Linked DNA regions of Homo sapiens: region 1 is linked to region 2. Evidence: promoter capture Hi-C in 16 types of primary human blood cells and fetal thymus (Javierre and others, 2016). All regions are on one chromosome and are shown on one strand. The core of a region is centred on a gene start or on the middle of the fragment in contact, and the rest is flanking DNA. Distances in the headings are between cores, read along the strand shown. Region 1 overlaps ARID3B (AT-rich interaction domain 3B). Region 2 holds the start of SCAMP2 (secretory carrier membrane protein 2).

Evidence for each region. Contacts are between HindIII fragments. The CHiCAGO score rates a contact against its expected background, and 5 or more counts as called.
Region 1: a contact is called between a fragment that was not itself captured here and the fragment with the promoter of SCAMP2 in region 2, in 1 of 17 cell types (total CD8 T cells). The highest score is 5.6, in total CD8 T cells.

What each region holds. Positions count from the first base shown.
Region 1 is chr15:74,545,752-74,552,164 of GRCh38, reverse strand. The region is part of intron 2 of ARID3B (AT-rich interaction domain 3B); the gene reads right to left. Among named protein-coding and RNA genes, the nearest start is that of ARID3B, 7.7 kb to the right of the region's middle. RefSeq lists enhancers at 5,591-5,900, 5,723-6,017 and a silencer at 5,601-6,143. The HindIII fragment of the contact is 1,365 bases long and covers 2,164-3,528 here.
Region 2 is chr15:74,869,473-74,876,571 of GRCh38, reverse strand. It overlaps SCAMP2 (secretory carrier membrane protein 2), which reads left to right and starts at 3,207. Exons shown (of 9, transcript NM_005697.5): 1 at 3,207-3,373. The coding sequence starts at 3,317. RefSeq lists enhancers at 5,024-6,009, 6,525-7,035. The HindIII fragment of the contact is 8,993 bases long and covers 1-5,541 here.

The DNA of each region.
Region 1 (6,413 bases), core at 1,597-4,096, 320 kb after region 2:
GCTTGAACCCGGGAGGCGGAGATTGCAGTGAGCCAAGATCACGCCACAGCACTCTAGCCTGGGCGGCAGAGCGAGACTCCGTCTCAGAAAAAAAAAAAAAAAAAAAAAGGAAAGAAAGAAAAAAGAAAAGGAAAAGAAAATAAGCATAAGCAGAATGAAGGACTATAGAAAGCAAAAGAAGAGAATATTCAAGGAGGGAGTGCTCTGTATTCAATAATGCTGAGAAATCAATGAGGTCAGGGAAGGCTGGGCTTAGCAACATGGAACTTCAGGGACATGGAAGAAACAGAGATCAGACTGGAGTATGCTGAGGAGTGAGTAGGAGGTGACAAATGGAAATAAAGAGTAAAACCAATTCCTTTGAGAAGCTTTGTTGCAAGGATGTGGGGGATAGTTAGGAATAGAAAAAAAGCTGGCAATAATGTGCAATCAAGAGGAAATTTTTTAAAAGTGGTCTCTCATTTCCTTGTTAACAACTGACTCAGGTAAAATTTAAGATTAAAGGTTTTTGTTGTTGTTTGCTTGTTTTTAAGTCTGACAGAGAGAAGATGCGTAAACGTGGAAAAGGCCTGGAAGAGAATGAGCCCAAAGAGTCAGGAAATGGAGGGTTCACTGATGGAGCAAGTCCCTGGAAACCTGGAAGGGGATGGGATCTGGGACACATGTAGAGAAATTAGCCTCTGGTGAGAGGGTAAGGACCCAAGTCAAGTCAGTGATTGTGTATTTATAAGGACTTAGTATCTATAAAGCTTACTTCTACCTAAAGAACAATACACACATATCCCTATGCTAATACGGAAAGATACAGCTTCAGAAGCGCCATGGTTTAAGCTCACATAATCCTGAAAGGTTTCAGAGAACTTCAGAACACCAGAGTGTGGTCAGGGCTCTAGAAAACCTGAAAAGGAGTTGTTTTAGAGTAGTGGGTAGGATTTATGGAGCATCTTATCTACAAAGGTCATAAAGACTGAAAAATTATGATTGACCCTTCAACGTGGATTTGAACTGCCTGGGTCCACTTATATGTAAACTATTTTCAACCCAACTTGGATCAAAGACAAAATTTACGAGATGTGAAACCCATGTATATGGAAGACTGACTTTTAATATATGTGGGTTCCACAGAGCTGACTGCAGGACTTGAGTATGCTCAAATTTTGGTATATGTGGGGGTCTTGGAACCAATCCCCTGCATGTGAGGGACGACGGTAGCTTCAAAAAGGACTTAGGTGTTGATGACAATTCGCCCTAACCCTGCAAAGCTCTTTCACACTCATATTTTTCTTCTACCTTTGTAATATCCTTAAAATCACTTCCTGAGGATAGCGGGAGAGGATTATCATCCTCTGGAATAGATTGATGCATGGGTTCAGAGAGGCAGATTAGAACGCTTGTCCAAAGTACTAGAGCAAGCAAGCAGTGGAAGCAGGGTCTTTTTTCTTTTCCTTTTTTTTTTTTGAGATGGACACTCACTCTGTCACCCAGGCTGGAGTGCAGTGGTGTGATCTCAGCTTACTGCAAGTTCTGCCTCCCGGGTTCATGCCACTCTCCTGCCTCAGCCTCCGGAGTAGCTTGGGACCGCAGGCGCCTGCCACCACGCCCAGCTAACTTTTTTTTTTTTTGTATTTTTAGTAGAGACGGAGATGATGTTTCACTGTGTTAGTCAAGATGGTCTTGATCTCCTGACCTCGTGATCCGCCTGCCTCCGCCTCCCAAAGTGCTGGGATTACAGGTGTGAGCCACTGCGCCTGGCGGGAAGTAGGGTCTTAATCCACATCCTCTGGCTCCAAAACCAATGCTGATTTAATAATTAAATCTGTTACTAGGTAACAAGTCTGCCAAGTATTTACACTTTAACCTTTTGGGGTTAATGTCTACAAGGGCAACCAAGCTCTCTCATATATCACCAAAGATATCAAAGATATCATGGAGTGCTGGGCTGAAAGAATCACTGATAGAGTCAAGTAAGAGATCTCAAGTTCTAGGCCCCAAACCTTTCCCAAGTGACAGTCTGTTCACCTAGATGACTAGAGGAAAGACATGAGCTCGGTACAGATATTGAAAGCAGAAGTCAAGAAAATTCAAGGCTGCCAAACTCCTCAGTTACTGAGACTGAAACACAAAGGAAAAGAGTCTCTGGTGCTGTCTGATGATAGCGAAGCTTATGTTCTTTCTGGTTGCACAATCTAGAGCACGGTTTCTCAACCTTGGCACTACTGTTATTTTGGACCAGATAACTCTTTGCTGTTGGGGGGCTGTCCAGTGCGTTATAGGATGTTTAGCAGCATCCCTGGTCTACCCACTAGACGCCCATAGCACACTGCCCCCTACTCCAGTCATGGCAATCAAAAATGTCTCCTGACACTGCCAAATGTCCCCTGGGAAGGGGCAGGGGTCACCTCTAATTGAGAACCACTCAACTAGATGGATTCCATTGTGACTGCAGAAGGCAAGGGCATGCAAGGTAGCTCTATAAAGAACATGAGGAAAGCCTACGAACATTTTCTTTTTTGGGCAATACTTTGCACAGTTTTTTAAAAAAGCCTCAAATGTTCCATAGTCATGCTGTATCTTTTCTTTTTCCCTTTTTTTTTTTTTTTACACCATCTCACTCTGTCATCCAAACTGGAGTGCAAGTGGCATGATATCGACTCACTGCAACCTTCGCCTCCCAGGTTCAAGTGATTTTCCTGCCTCAGCCTGCCGAAGTAGTTGGGACTACAGGCGTGTGCCACCACACCCAGCTAATGATAGTCATGCAGTATCTACCAAGAAAAGTAGGCCTATCCCGGCCGGGCGCAGTGGCTCACGCCTGTAATCCCAGCACTTTGGGAGGCCGAGGCGGACGGATCACGAGGTCAGGAGATCGAGACCATCCTGGCTAACACGGTGAAACCCCGTCTCTACTAAAAATACAAAAAAATTAGCCGGGCGTGGTGGCGGGCACCTGTAGTCCCAGCTACTCAGGAGGCTGAGGCAGGAGAATGGCGTGAACCCCGGGGGGTGGAGCCTGCAGTGAGCCGAGATCATGCCACTGCACTCTAGCCTGAGTGACAGCGAGACACCGTCTAAAAAAAAAGAAAAAAAAAGAAAGAAAAGTAGGCCTATCCCAAGGGACTACACCTTAATTAGAGGGATGGCTTCTGGACACCAGTCAGTCAGTCATGGCATTAGAAGAAATGGACAGTAGTCTCCACTAATTGCCCAGCAGGAAGTCGACTCTCACGGTAAGATGAGATTGATTTTGCTCATGGTTAAGAATAGGCAAAAAAAACCCCAAAAAAACAAAAACAAACACGAAACTCCCTCTTCTCAAATCACATTCCCTTTGTCTCTCCCAGTGCCCATCTAACATGGCAATTCTTCCCATTTGTCATGGAGCTTCCTTTGCTTCTGTACTGCAGAAGTGCTTCTCCAACAAATTCAGAGAGAACCCACGCTGTCATGAGCTGAGGGTGCCCCAAGCGGCTTGGAGGTGTTTGAAATTGGTAATACCCTGTCCTTGTTAACACATGTGATTAGCAAGCTTTAGGACGTTAGGAATTCTTTAATTGCAAATATTCTGAAATTAAACCCTTCCATCCTAGAAGGCAGTCACAAAACAAAATCTTGTAAAACATGCTAGAAGGGGAAGGGTAGAGGAGGGGGCCAACATTTATTGTGCAATGGCTCCCAGTGCTTTCAACTGAATTGGCTGTGAAAGTATGTTAAGCCCGTGGTTGGATCACAGCCACATGCAGTAACCAAAGCGACTGCCAAAGTATGCAGAAAATCGGACACATGCACCCTGGCCCCACATGCCTGCCAAGCCATCTTTCTTCTTTCTATTCTATCGAAGGGGGTCTACACCCTTCTAGTAACCTAGCTCTACCAATGGGCTCAAGACAGACCCAGCCTGTACTGCTTGAACCACCTTCTACCAGAGGGGGAGAACACCACCCCCAAAAGGCCAGCAACATCCCCTAGTTGGCTGTATGATCTCCTTTGAGAAAAGGAACACTCAGTTCTTTGTCTGTTTTCTTGTTTTACAATTATTTACTCTGCCCATAGGAATCTGATGGGTTTTAGAACACTTGGCTCAATGGCGTTATCCATCTTCCCATCACTGTGGTGTCAGAGAATAATACCACACCTTAACAATCCAGGCCTTGAGAAGCAAATATTTTCTAAGAGTTTCTTCAAAGAGAATCCACGAAATAATTTTGACTTTACATGTTCTAAGTAAGGGATTTCAGATGCAAAGAATAATCTCTGGAACCCTTAAGCTTTCCCAGTTTCACTTTTCAGTTAGCAGATGCCTGTCCTCCCTTACCCCAAAATCTTGCAAAATACTTCTGAGTATTCCTGTTGGTTTGCCAAGCTATGCTATGCTGTAGACAAAATTAACTTTTTAAACTTTGGCATGTGAATGTTTGAAACAAAACTCTGTTTTAAAATATCTCTGCCATAGCAGACTGGGTGGCTGGGCTCCAGTAGACTCAGGACAGAATCAAATTATTGTAACCCAAGTTCGAATCCCCCTTGAGGTTCCCACACTGCCACCGCTAGACCTGAACTCCCTGAGAGAGAAACATGCCTTGTTTCATACAGCACAGGTCTGGCACAAAGAAGCCTCTGTAAAAGTTTGTTGTTCAAAAGAACAAGATGGACACTGTATCACATTAACAATAAGATCTGTGTCAGGGTAGGCGCGGTGGCTCACGCCTGTAATCCCAGCACTTTGGGAGGCCAGGACGGGCGGATCACTTGAGGTCAGGAGTTTGAGACCAGCCTGGCCAACATGACGAAACCCTGTCTCTACTAAAAATACAAAAAAATAAATAAAAATAAAAAAATAAATTAGCCAGGCATGGTAGCATATGCCTGTAATCTCAGCTGCTAGGGAGGGTGAGGCACGAAAATCACTTGAACTCAGGAGGCGGAGGTTGCAGGAAGCCGAGATCGCGCCACTGCACTCCAGCCTGGGCAACAGAGTGCGCTCTGTGTCGGCGGGGGAGGGGGAAGGCGGGGGGGAAAGATCTGTGTCAATTGTAAAGGTCTTTGTAATTGTTGCTGGAGCAAGGGATATTCTATTTTTGCACTCCATTAAGTTTCATAAAGTAAAGATTTTGAACAACAAAACAAGCTAGTCTAATGATCTGTAATGGTTTCTATAGGCTCTCCCCAAGAATATTATTATTTTTGGCCCTTCTAAAATATACTAAAAAAAAAGTTTTAAAATCCCCAAGCATATGATTTACTCCTTTAAAATCAGGATTTATAGAAAAGGAGAGCACAGATCAAATCAATGTTAAAAATTAAAGGGGAAAAGGACGTGCACATCTGACGGTTTAAGTCATTGCTACCCAAAGCCCCCCAGTTCAGTTCTTGATCTCCAAATCCTGGGGGAAGGTAAATTTTGGGTGAGGGATTATACCTCAGCTACTGTGGTATTTATAAAACATTTTGGCAGGTGCTCTGCCAAGCAGTCTATAATTAGTGAATATGCCTCAGAAACATAAAGTGAACGCAAAGAGTTTCAAATGCCAACAGCCAGCCCCCTGAATACTGAGCTACGTAGTCATAGGGCTGCCACCATCTAGATAACATGATGCTGGGTGCCCTGCCACGGTGCACACGTGTGCACATGCACACGCCAGTTCTGAAGAGTCTTTTTTTAAACCTCTAATGGCTTGACCTCAACACCTGCTACACTTCCTGAAGACAGACAGGCTCTGGAGCTCCACTTGTTCCTCGCATGCGGCTGCACTTTCTAGGAACGACCGCACACACGCAGACGCTGGCCAGCTGCCAAGGCGGGGGCAGCCCAGCCGCCTCGGGCCTGAACTTTCCCAGCGCTGTCAGGGCAGGATCCTGCTATGAGCTGACTCAGCGGCCGGTATGGAACTCTGCCAACCACACAGCAGTGCGGGGGCAGCCGGCAACTCACAGATGTTTTGCTAAACCAAAGCAATCAGTGGGAGGCGGGTCTGGGCTGGCGGCCAGGGTGCTGCTGTCGTGGAAGTTGGGATTCTCTGATTCTAGTCCTAGCTCTGCCACTATCTCCCTGGGTGATGAGTGAAAACCTCTGTGTATCTCAGTACATCTCCCACTTCAGAGGCATGTCTATGTGATGCAGGAGAGGATGGCACTGTTTACATAAAAGAGCTCCCCCGGGCACTATTACCTACCATGTGCCTGGCACTGGACAAGCTTTCACATGTGCTAGCTCGGTTAATCCTTACAACATCCATGGGAGGCAGTGGCACTCTTTTTATTTCACAGATGAGAAGACACAGGCTCAGAGCAAATCAGAGCCCTACTAAAAGATCACAAGGGCAATATTTGGAAGTGATGGGATTTGAATCCCACTGCTGGCTGCAAACACTATTGTTGTAAAACTCAGATCTACTGTACAGACCTCCTGATCCAAG
Region 2 (7,099 bases), core at 1,958-4,457:
AGATGGGCAGCCACCACATTGGTTGTAATTAAGTTTCATTCTTTCTTCACCAGCCCAGCATTGTACTTGGCTGCAGCAGACCCAGAGCAGGCAGGACTGCCTTGTGGGGTGTGGACTGTTCTCCTCTGAGGCTGCAGAGAGCAGACAGCAAAGATCTGTCTGCTGCCCTTGAGGGGTGGCCATAGAGGCTTGGGGACAGGCAATTTCTAAGGGGATACAAAATGGATCCTTCCCCATCCTCCCACTTGTGTGCAGATATTTCCCGAAGTAAAGCTGAGCTAAACCCTAAAGGATAGTCAGGATTTAGATGGGAGAGGAAGGTGAAAGAAACAGATGACCAGGCGCAGTGGTGTGTACCTGTAGGCCCAGTACTTTGGGAGGCGGAAGTGGCAGGATCAATTGAAGCCAGGAGTTCAACACCAGCTTGGGCAACAAAGTAACACCCTGTTTCTAAATAAACAAACAAAATAAATGGATGCAGGGAAACAGTAAAATAGTTACTAAATGTGTATGATGCATGTGGGCTGGGCACAGTGGCTCACGCCTGTAATCCCAGCACTTTGGGAGGCCGAGGCGAGCAGATCATTTGAAATCAGGAGTTCAAGACCAGCCTGGCCAAGATGGTGAAACCCAGTCTCTATTAAAATTACAAAAAAAAAAAAAAAAAAATTAACTGGGTGTGGTGGTGAGTGCCTGTAATCCCAGCTACTTGGGAGGCTAAAGCAGCAGAATCTCTTGGACCTGGAAGGCGGAGATTGCACTGAGCTGAGATCATGCCACTGTACTCCACCCTGGGTGACAGAGTGAGACTTTGTCTGGAAAAAAAAAAAACCCCAAACCCACAAAAAATAAATTAATAAATGTGTATCATGTGCTTTATACTATGTTAGTGACAGAAACACAACAGTGAGCAAAACAGACCTCAGCCCTACCCTCATGGAGCTTTCAGTCTAGCGGAGGATACAGGCATAAAGAACCACCTATACTAGTATTAATTACAATCTGCAATGGGTATTGTGAAGGAAAAGTACAGGGCAATAGGAGAGCTTATGTTGGGTATGAGGTGATGATGTAACCAAGAGAGTGAAGGGAAGCTACTCCTGAAGAAAGGCATCTGAACTTGCATTTAAAGGGTAAGGAGAGGTTAACCAGAGGATGATAGTGGGGCATGGGTTAAGTGCATACCAGGTAGAAGGAACACATGTGTAAAGGCCCTGAGACAGGAGGGCACAAGGAAGGTTTGAGCAACTGAAAAGAACTTGCATGGCTGGAACAGTGGGTGGGGGTTGGGGGCTAGAAGGGGTCAGAAGGGGAGAAACGTAGGGGCAGATCCTTTAGGACCTTGAAGACAAACTAAGAATTTGGGCCTTTATGATTTTTTTTTTTTTTTTTTGAGACAGAGTTTCACTCTTTTTGCCCAGGCTGGAGTGCAATGTTGCAATCTTAGCTCACTGCAACCTCCGCCTCCCAGGTTCAAACGATTCTCCTGCCTCAGCCTCCCAAGTAGCTGGGATTACAGGTGTGCACCACCACACCCAGCTAATTTTGTATTTTTAGTAGAGATGAGGTTTCACCATATTGGCCAGGCTGGTCTCGAACTCTTGACCTCAGGTGATCTGCCTGCCTTGGCTTCCCAAAGTGCTGCGACTACAGGCATGAGCCACCTTGCCTGGCCTGATTTTTTTTTTTTTTTTTTTAACTGAGACAGGGTCTCACTCTGTCACTCAGCTGGAGTGTAGTGGTGCAAAGATGGCTCACTGCAGCTTTGACCTCCTGAGCTCAAACAGTCCTCCTGCCTCAGCCTCCCAAGTAGCTGGGAGTACAGGCACAGGCCACCATGCCTAGCTAATTACGTGTGTGTGTGAGATATGTATATGTATATATATATATATATATATATATATATATATTTTTTTTTTTTTTTTTTTTTTTTTGTAGAGCCAGGGTCCTGGTATGTTGCCTAGGCTGGTCTCGAACTCCTGGCTTCAAGTGATCCTCCTACCTCTGCCTCCCAAAGTACTGGGATTACAGGCATAAGCCACGCACCCAGCCCTTTATGGAAATTAATTGAAAAATTTTAACAAAGTTCTGTGATAATTTTGCCCCCTTTAAACATATCTTTGATTACAACATGAAGAACAATAGACCAATTAACAGCACTGTATTAGTTCAGGGTAAAAATGACAGTGGCTGGGATTCGGTGACAGCAGAGATGAATAATACCAGACAGATCCAAATAAATAAGGTGGATTTGGCCAGACAGTGGTTCATGAGTATAATCCTAGCATTTTAGGAAGCCAAGGCGGGAGGATCACTTCAGCCCAGGTGTTTGAGACGAGCCTGGGCAATATAGTGAGATCCCCATCTCTACAAAAAATCCATAAATTAGCTGGGTATGGTGGTGACCAGCTGTAGTCCCAGCTACTCAGGAGGCTGAGGTGGGAGGATTGCTTGAGCCCAGGAGCTCGAGGCTGCAGTGAGCCATGATTGCACCACTGCACTCCAGCCTGGGCGACAGTGAGACCCTGTGGGGGGCGGGGGCGGGGGAAAGCGGAGCTGTGGAGAGTGAAGCAGCCACCTCCCCCATGATTGAGGCTGTGTTGCTGAATTCCGTGAGTCACTTCATAAATGTTTGATGTCCAGGTTCAAGTCCCAACTCAGGTCCCAAAGCTGATGGGCCCAGGAACCCTCGTCCCTAAAACGATGAAACGACATCAGAGGGCGAGCAGCCCTAGAAGAAGCAGGCTCAGCTCGGGTGGAGGACTGCTGGATGGTCCTGGCACTTCTCTTTCCCCGAGCACGTTCTGCAGAAGAAGCGCTTTCCTAGTTCTCCCAAGGCCTCTGGCCTCACCTGTCACCCCTGTCCTTTGCCCAGGGATCAGTTTGGACTTCTTCCCAAACTTGGTCTACAGAGAAGTGAAGGGGCTGTTTCCTGTCCCACTTTTGAGAGTTTGCTTTAGAAACATAAAATTGGAAGGTGTCAGATTGATAGGCAGTTGGGAAGGACTCCGGCCACGCCTCTGGCTCCGTAGACGCTCCGCGCAGCCAAGACCCCTGAATCCCCAGCAGAGCGAAGATGTGGACGGAAGCCGAATGCCCACCCACCGCACTATTGTGGGCTGGGCGGGGGGGGGGGGGGGGGGGGCGGAGCGACCCCGGTGCCGTCATAGGGCCACGCCCTCGGGGGAGGGCATCGCGCCTGCGCCAGAACCGCTGCCTCGCTCCCGGAAGTGGAGGGTCTACACGAAGCGCCGCTGGGTCTGGGTGCCCGGAGGCAGCAGCGTTCGCGGAGTTCGCCCGCTGGCCCCCGATCACCATGTCGGCTTTCGACACCAACCCCTTCGCGGACCCAGTGGATGTAAACCCCTTCCAGGTAGAGCCCCTCTCCCGCCATCCAGCTCTCAGATTTCCCTAGGGCCCACGGCCGCCGCCCGGGCCTCTCGCTAGAGCCGGGAGACGTGGCGTAGGAGGGACGGGTCATCTGCCCAATGGGAGAGCGGGCTTTGAGGTCTGGCCTATCGTAACGCGTGAGGGGCGCGACTAGCAGCAGGTGGAACTGCAGAGGAGGCGGGGCGCTGAAGTGTTGGAGACAGTGGGGTCTTCTAGCACCCGGAGGCTGGGCTGTGCTAGGGAAGGGGACTGGAGCAGGTACGGTCGGACCCTTCCGGAAGTCTCCTAGCGTCAGGGAGAAGCGAAATGTGGCTATCGCATTCCCTCATTCTTGGATAGACACCTGTCTTGAGTCACTTTAGAAGAGGGGGTGACAGCAACATATGAGGAGGTGGTGAAGCCTCTGGTGGAGGGGAAAAATGTGGGAAAAGCCCAGGACACCTGCCACCGCTCCACCACCAGCCAAACTAGTGTATAAAGTACAGGAGAGCCCCTGAGATTTGTCAGGGAAAGAAAGATGGGAGAGGGCGGGAAGGTAGCCCAAGTTGAAAAATGGCCTTGATAAGAATTCCACATTTTGGCCATGGGTCTAGTTTGGAGTGGGTTTTGACCAGATAGGAGAGCCCGGGTTAGGGAGAGAGGAGAGGTGCGGGGGACTGTGAAAAATTCTGGACCCACAGGGAACGTTTGTCTGATGGAACTGTGTGTGGTGGCAACATAGTTGAGATGCACTGACGTGTGAGCTGGCCTGACTTTTTTTTTTTTTTTTGAGACGGAGTCTCGCTTTGTCGCCCAGGCTGGAGTGCATTGGCACGATTTCCGCTCACTGCAACCTCTGCCTCCCGAGTTCAAGCAATTCTCCTGCTTCAGCCTCCTGAGTAGCTGGGACTACAGGCGTATGCCACCACACCCAGCTAATTTTCATACTTTTAGTAGAGACGGGGTTTCACCGTGTTGGCCAGGCTGGTCTCAAACTCCTGACCTCAGGTGATCCATCCGCCTCGGCCTTCCAAAGTGCTGGGATTACAGGTGTGAGCCACCACGCCTGGCCTGACCTTTTGAACAGCAATCAAGGAAGAAACAATCTTCCTGCTTTCTTTCTTTTCCTTTTTTTTTGTTTTGTTTTGTTTTGTTTTTTGAGACAATTCTTGCTCTGTCGCCCAGGCTGGAGTGCAGTAGCGCGATCTCGGCTCACTGCAGCCTCAGCCTCCTGGGTTCAAGTGATTCTCGTGCTTCAGCCTCCCGAGAAACTGGGATTACAGGTGTGCACCACCACACCCGGCTAATTTTTGTATTTTTAGTAGAGACGGGGTTTCACCTTATTGGCCAGACTGGTCTCAAACTCCTGGCCTGAAGTGATCCACCCACCTTAGCCTCCCAAAGTGCTGGGATTACAGGGGTGAGCCACCACACCTGGCCTCTTTTTTTTGAGACAGAGTTTTGCTCTTGTTGCCCAGGCTGGAGTGCAGTGGCGCGATCTCGGCTCACTGCAACCTCAGCCTCCTGGGTTCAAGCAATTCTCCTTCCTCAGCCTCCTGAGTAGCTAGGATTACAGGCATGCACCACCACGACCGGCTAATTTTGTATTTTTAGTAGAGACGGGGTTTCTCCACGTTGGTCAGGCTGGTCTCGAACTCCCGACCTCAGGTGATCCACCTGCCTCGGCCTCCCAAAGTGCTGGGATTACAGGCATGAACCACTGCGCCCAGCCCTCTTTCTTCCTTTTTTAAGGCAGGGTCTCACTCTGTCGCCCAGGCTGTAGCACAGTGGAGGTCATGGCAGCCTTGACCTCCAGGATTCAAATGATTATTTGAATCCCACCTCAGTCTCCTGAGTAGCTGGGACTACAAGAATGTGCCACTGGGCCTGACTCCTTTTAAAAAAAATTTTTGTAGAGAAGGGGTCTCGCTGTGATGCCCAAGCTGGTCTCGAAATCCTGGTCTCAAGCAATCCTCTGGCCCCAGCCTCTCAAAGTGCTATGATTACAGGCATGAGCCACAGGACAGTCTTCCTACTTAAAGCCCACACCTTTCTGCCTTTCAGCTGAGAGCACAGGGATGATCTTTTTCCACCATGAGGGGCTGAACTGTTACCTCCAGAGCTCCTATGCCTCTTGTTTCACGTCTGCTCAAAACCCGTTCTAGGGAAGCTTGTTTGTGCTGACTGGTGAATTATGAGCCCTGATATTCTGCTCTGTCAGGATGTCACCAGGCACATTAACTCACCCTGCTTGTCCTTTATTTTGGTCATTGGCAGCTTTTAAGTTTCCTGCAGGTGTCAGAGAAGTCCTTGAAGGAGTCCTTCCTGTCATTCACAGCATGAGTTTTCCCACTTTGAATCGCTTCAAGGGTCAGAGCAAAATCAAAGGAGACTTGAACTAAATAATTATACGCTGTCAGGAGAGTGAAAATGTTTTGCTTCTTTCTTGGTCTCAAGGTGTCTTAGCCAACAGGAGCCCTCAGGGCAAATTCTGATAGCTTGTTCCTTAGAACATCAGGGAATTCTGAACATTCCTCTCGTAGCTTAATGTTTCTTGACAGAGCGTTTGCAAGGACCTTGTCTCTTATGTAAGGCAAACAGTCATCTCTATTGAGTAAAGAAAGAAGATTTGCATTTTTTTTTTCTGCCAATGTCTTCTGGTAACAGACTTTAATTACAAAACTGCTGTATAATACTGGGGTTTGGGTTTTAGTAGGATCTTGTAGCCTTATGGTGTATGTTGTATGTGATGATTTTCCATTTTTTATGTGTGTTTTTTTGTCCTCTCAGAATCAGAAATAAAAAGTCTGCTGCTGTCTGACAGAGAGGAAGTCAGTTGTCTAAAAATGCAGAGAGCTTTGCTCCAGTGTTAGCAGAGGGCAAGATAGTTCTACCCTGTATTAATAGCTGCTTGAAAGTCTTAAACCTCATCTCTGGCTCCAAAAATGACTGTGCAAACTGTGGTAGAAGTAACTTCTGCATTCTAGCGAGACAGTCTGTCCATCAGGAAGCCCCAGGATATGGCATGACAGGAAGCAGCTGTGGTCCTGTCAACCAGCCACATCTGGTGGGGAGTCCTGGGTGGGAAGAAGAAAGCTGGCTGGCTGGCTGCGATTTGCTCCTCCTCATCCTGGGCTGGGCTTTTCCTCTTGGCACACAGTGGTGTGGGGAGAAACAGCTTTGGATGTGAGGCCTCTGAACCTTCTCCTGGTCAGAGCTGCCCACCTTTTCCTTGAGATGGTGATGTCTGCTTCCTTGACTGCCAGGGCTAGGACGTTGGGAGGTGTAGCCCTTGGGTGCCTGGGTGTGAGCCCAGCTTCATTTACTCAGGGTGTTGGCACCAAGCTCAGGAGAGAGCAGGTGGAGAGGCGATAGACTCAGAAACTGTCACACCTAGTCACACTCCAGAACAGTCGTTTTTATTTCCGTCATGCAGTGACAGAAATGGTGGATTGCAAAAATATACCTAGTGTTCAGAGCTCATAGTTGACTGTTAAGAGCTGAGAACATTCTTAGAACTCTATTCTAACCTCTTCAGTTTAGAGATGAGGAAACCAAGACCTCAATGAGGATGGTATGTGCCAGAGTCATCAGTTGTTTAGCAGCAGGAAGGTGCTGACCTGGGTCTCATTCCCAGGACAGGGCTGTTTTAAAGGTTTTGAAGCTCAGACATTGGTGTTAAACTGCACTGGGGCTATTTTAGGCTGGCTAAGGAAAGAATGGAATGTAA